Linked DNA regions of Homo sapiens: region 2 is linked to region 1. Evidence: promoter capture Hi-C in 16 types of primary human blood cells and fetal thymus (Javierre and others, 2016). All regions are on one chromosome and are shown on one strand. The core of a region is centred on a gene start or on the middle of the fragment in contact, and the rest is flanking DNA. Distances in the headings are between cores, read along the strand shown.

Evidence for each region. Contacts are between HindIII fragments. The CHiCAGO score rates a contact against its expected background, and 5 or more counts as called.
Region 2: a contact is called between a fragment that was not itself captured here and the fragment with the promoter of HDAC7 in region 1, in 1 of 17 cell types (non-activated CD4 T cells). The highest score is 5.1, in non-activated CD4 T cells.

What each region holds. Positions count from the first base shown.
Region 1 is chr12:47,818,468-47,821,167 of GRCh38, reverse strand. HDAC7 (histone deacetylase 7) reads left to right here and starts at 1,265. Exons shown (of 26, transcript NM_015401.5): 1 at 1,265-1,401. The coding sequence starts at 1,383. RefSeq lists enhancers at 1-424, 1,763-2,336 and silencers at 975-1,314, 1,455-1,534, 1,545-1,854. The HindIII fragment of the contact is 23,145 bases long and covers 1-2,700 here.
Region 2 is chr12:47,210,995-47,213,694 of GRCh38, reverse strand. All of the region lies in intron 2 of PCED1B (PC-esterase domain containing 1B), which reads right to left. The region is part of intron 2 of PCED1B-AS1 (PCED1B antisense RNA 1); the gene reads left to right. Among named protein-coding and RNA genes, the nearest start is that of PCED1B-AS1, 4.1 kb to the left of the region's middle. The HindIII fragment of the contact is 8,343 bases long and covers 1-2,700 here.

The sequences.
Region 1 (2,700 bases), core at 16-2,515:
CCTTCTCTGGATTCTTGGGGTTTCTTAGGATTGCGGGAGATAGAATGGGGTCAGGGGAAGCTGCTCCTTGGTTTACAATGGTGGCGCCTCACGCTGCAGAGAGCCCAGTGTTCCTGCGTGGTGGACCTCTCCCCTTCCTAGGAGCAGCTCCAGATTGCTGGAGGCAGACACGGCTGACCGGCTAGCCCAGGAAGCACAATGGCGAGGTCCTTAGCCCCTGACCCCTGAATCTGACCTTCTCTCCAGCTAAAAGCGGAGGGAGAGGCAGGGAGGGCCACTGCCTAAAGCCGGCCCTGAGCTGAGTTTATTAGCTGAGGGAGGGCTGGAGGCGGCTGCATTCCGACTCACAGACTGGAACATTTCTGTGATCCGCTGTAATGCACTGGGGGACACTGGGCACATTGCTGAAGTTTGACTCATAGGGACCGGGAGGGGGAAAGAGGGGGGTTGTGGAGGGAGAGGAATGGGAGGAAGAGAGGAAGAGGAGAGGAGGGAAGGAAGTCCCTTGAGAAATTTCTTTAAAAAAAGAAAACTTTCAAAATCTGCACCACCCCCACACCCTTTTTCTTTTAATAGGAACAGGCTGGACCCTTCCGTTCCCCTCAGCAGGCATGGTGTGTGTGTGGGGGTGCCAGTGGGGGAGGGCTGGGCAGTGATTCAAATCAGATCCTGGAACTTTCCTGAGGCAAGTCGTGCTTATGTGTGTGTGTGTGTGGTGGGGGGTGTCCGTCTGGGATTCCTTGTATGGGACATGGGACACCACGCGTGTCCCACTGTGCCCGCGTGTGGCTGCGTGCTTGTGGGCTGTACGGGTATGTAGTGTGTGCACGGGGGTCCACCCCGAAGCCCCAGTGTGTGCTGTGTAAATGATTCTGCCCCTTGTAAACATGGATGCGTGCTCGTGTACGTTGTGTATGCGAGGGTGCGTGCGCCCAGGTAGCTGGGTTTCCGGGAATTGTGCACGGCTCGGAGCGCCTCGCGGCGGCTGGGGCTCGGAGCCGCGGCCGGCGTTCCGGGTTCGGCGCTGCCTCCCCGGCAGTGCGCCGCGCCCCGCCGCGATCTGGCCGCGCGCGGTGTCTGCGGCCCGCCTGTGCGCCGCGCGGTGCAGTGTCTGCCGGGGTGGTGTGTCCCAGGGCCGCGAGCGCCTGCCCCCTCCCTCCCCTCCCCCTTGGCCCGCTCTCAGACTCAGATAAAGCATTTCCTTCCATTGTCATCCTACCCGGCCGGCCGGGCTGCCAGGGCCCTCCCCCTCCCGGCCCCCTCCCTTCCTCTCGCCGTCTCACAGTCGCTCTGCAGCCTCCGGCGACTGGGGGGATGTGAGGCCGGCGCCCCAGCCCCCCGCCCCGCCATGAGCCCCCCGCTCTGAGGGCCCCGGCCCCTGGATGCACAGCCCCGGCGCTGGTGAGTACTGGGCGGCCGCCCCCCGCCCCGCCCTGCGCGCGGCACCCAGCGTCGCCCGCCCAGGCTCGGCCTCCGGCCCTGGCCCCGGCTCCGGCTCCGGCTCCGGCTCGGGCTCCCGCCAGCCCCGCGGGCCCAGCCCGGCTTGCGCCCCCCGACCGCGCCTGTCCCGCCCGGCTCCGCGGGGCTCTGGCAGGCTCCGGGTCGGAGCTGGTTCCGGGGGCCGGAGGGCTCGGGCCTCCCGCGGGGCGCCCACATCCGCCCGCCCCGGGGCAGCTACAGGCCCAAGGGAGGGAGTTGGAGGCCCCGGCCGCCGGTGTGCGGGCCCCACGTCCCATCACCCCTGTTCCCGGGGAGGACGAGCCGAGGGACCGGGGAGGGAGGGACGGCCGCGGTGGCCCGGCGAGGGGGCGGTGCTCCGGGGCGGAAGGTTTGGAAGCGCGAGGGCAAAGGGCAGGACCCACTGAGTTGGGGCTGGGCTTTGTGGGGCTGGACATCAGCGCCCCCATCCCGTGGAGCCGGGCAGGGCCCTACTCAGATCCTTCGGCGGGGAAAGAGGTCCCTTGGAGGGGTCTCTGGCTGGGAGGTTTCTCTGAGCATTGCCCCCCATCCTTGCTCACCCATCAGGGTGAAGAGACACCTGTGCCCTGGTGAGCTGTGGAGGTCAATGCCGGCAGCGGCGCGGGAAGCGGGGCGCCGCAGGCTGTGTGAGGGGTGGGGGACAGGATGTGCACCCCCCAGGCCTGGGGTCTGTTGGTGTTGGGGAGTGTGAGAGCAGGCGGCAAATTTGGCGGATGGGCTGGGTTCCCACGACCAGAGTTTCTAGGCCTGTGGGCCAGGAGAGAGCCCTCTGGGGCCCGCAGGCCACCCAGTGCCCCACCCCCATTGCTTCCCGCTGTGGCTGCCCGTTTGGGTCTGACCTCCCCAGCCACGGCTGCTCCTCACTCCTTCTCCCCGCTGGCTGTCTTGCGCACCCAAAGGCCTCCCCCTGCATCTGGACACTGGCTGTCTCGCTGCCAACGCTCCCTGCCCACTCCCCTAGGCAACATCTGCCTGAGGCCCAGCTCTGCCTGCCGCTTTCTAGGGTGAGAATGGGGCATCGGCCCTCAGCGGCCCTGCTGGGAGCTCAAGATCAACTTCTCAGCCTGTTCCCTGGACTTGCATCTGGACCTGTGGGACCTTCCTCAGGACCCCTATTCAGCTATAGGGCTGGCAGGAGACTGTGACTCAGGTCCCTGCCCTCCAATGAGACGCTTTGGCGGCCCTTTCCCCCTCCCAGGACTCCATAGGCTGCTAGGCTGC
Region 2 (2,700 bases), core at 201-2,700, 610 kb after region 1:
ACATATAATGTTTTACCCTGTGAATGTGCTTTCACACACAGATATCCTTTACTATTAGCAGCTCATTAGTAGTTATAGCCACAGAGAAATTTAAACTTTGCTTTATGCAAGCCATTACCATTTTATCCACATTTTCTATCTTAAGGAACGCAATTATTTTTCTTATCTTCTTGGGAATCCTATAAGAGGGCCAGAAATCAGCCCATTAAATATATACATATATATACATTAATTTCAGCTGGCTCGTGTGTGTATGTGTTTAAATCTATTCCTGGGCTGCCTTAAACGAATGGGCCAAATTTGGCAAATCACAAAACTATGTTTTTTTCTTTGGTTGTCTGACTTAAACAGTCCACATATTTTTGATAATTTCTCTTCAAAGCACTCACAATTAGTACTTTCAAGCACATATGAATAATGAATAATTTGTTTCTATTAGGGTACGAAATCTTCTCTGATAACATATTAGGAACTTTGAGATTCTGGATTAAAACTTCTCATGAGTTCGATTTAGTAACAGAACTAAATTTTGCACGAAGTATGTGCAAACTTTGTGTTGATGAACAAGGCAATACTTATTGGGATTTGGGATGTTACAGATTGAGAAAAGCCAAATCAGTGATTTCACTATTCAGGATGGATGGAATGAGAAATGTGAATTTATAAAAGATCCCATTCTGTCAGGATTTCTTAAACATTTCCACAAAATTCTTAGAATTCTTATGTTTTATGCAAGTTCTGTATTCTGTTCCAATGCAGCCTAGTGGTTCAGAACATGGCCTTTGCAGGCAGAAAAGCCTGAGTTCAGAGTCCCAAATTAATAATCCACAAGCTGTGTGACTTTGGGAAAGGTACTCAACTCCTCTGGCCCACTTCCAGTTGTGAAGTTTAAACCTGCAAAGTGCTAAGCAGACTGCTTGGTACTTAGTAAATGCTCATTTTTGTTCCAGGGATTAGTATACATGCATCCATGCTTTAGTAATGCAAAATAATTCTTTAAATGACTAACCACTGGAAAAAAACGTAAATACTGACAAGTACCTTGTTTGATGGGCACTGTTCCATGGGCTGGTATGACACCATCACTGCAGGAATAGACTGCGCAAGTGGAGGGGAGATGACAGAAATCATCGTTAGGTCAAGTTGAAGCTCGGGGAGATTGAGCAACTGTCTGAATCACACAGGTTAACTACTGAGCTTGGACTAAAGACCAGGCTTCCTGGGTCCTGGACTCATAGTTCCAGAGCTATAGTTCATGAATTTTTTTCTCTAAGGCTGTAAGCTCTTTTTACAGAGAATAATTTAATGCCCTGCAAGAACTGGGTCTTACATTATTTAGCAATGTCCCTTACCTTTAAACCACAGGCTTAGTTTTCCAATTCCGGTCCTCTCTCCTTTTTTCTTTTTGTTTTTTGAGACAGAGTCTCTTGCTCTGTCACCTATGCTGGAGTGCAGTGGCATGATCTCAGCTCACTGAAACCTCCACCTCCGGGCTCAAGTGATCCTCACACCTCAGTCTCCCACCTACCCCCAGTAGCTGGGACCACAGGAGTGAGCCACCATGCCCTGCTAGTTTTTTGTATTTTTGGTAGAGATTGGGTTTTTTTTTTTTTTTTTTTTGAGACGGAGTCTCGCTCTGTCTCCCAGGCTGGAGTACAGTGGCACGATCTCGGCTCACTGCAAGCTCCGCCTCCCGGGTTCACGCCATTCTCCTGCCTCAGCCTCCCAAGTAGCTGGGACTACAGGCGCCCGCCACTACGCCCGGCTAATTTTTTGTATTTTTAGTAGAGACGGGGTTTCACCGTTTTAGCCGGGATGGTCTCGATCTCCTGACCTCGTGATCCGCCCGCCTCGGCCTCCCAAAGTGCTGGGATTACAGGCGTGAGCCACCGTGCCCAGCCGAGAGATTGGGTTTTACCTTGTTGCCCAGGCTGGCTTTGAACTTCTGGGCTCAAGTGATCCACCCGCCTCAGCCTCCCAAAGTGCTGGAATTACAGGCCTGAGCCACTGCGCCCAGTTTTTTTTTTTTTTTTTTTTTTTTGAGACAGAGTCTCACTCTGTTGCCCATAGTAGAGTGCAGTGGTGCGATCTTGGCTCATTGCAACCTCTGCCTCCCAGGTTCAAGCAGTTCTCCTGCCTCAGCCTCCTGAGTAGCTGGGATTATAGCCATGTGCCACTACACCTGGCTCCTTTTTTTTTTTTTAAAGTAGAGTTGGGGTTTCACCATGTTGGCCAGGCTGGTCTTGAACTCCTGGCCTCAAGTGATCCACATGCCTCAGCCTCCCAAAGTGCTGGGATTACAGGCGTGAGTCACCGCACCTGGCCATAAGGTTGTTTTGTCAAGGAAGATAGAAACAGCTTAATATTTTTGGATGTGTGCTGTTCTTCCTTTCTTACTTTATTAGATAAACATCCATCGAGTGCTCCTTCGGTCAGGCACAGTGCTTAGCACCTGAGATATGAGGTTGAGTAGGATATGGTCTTCTCTATGTTCTGTAGCTCACAGTGCAGGGAGGGAAAAACACAGAAGCAGATAACTAGAATTCAATGTTGGGAGTGCATTTATGGCTTTATGTTAGAGTATCACTTCTATTACTGAAAAGGGATTTTTAAAATTCTACTGAAAACATGAAAATGAAAATAGCGCCATGAAAAGTAGCTTCTAGTCATATTCTTTTATGATGAATATTTGCTTTGCAT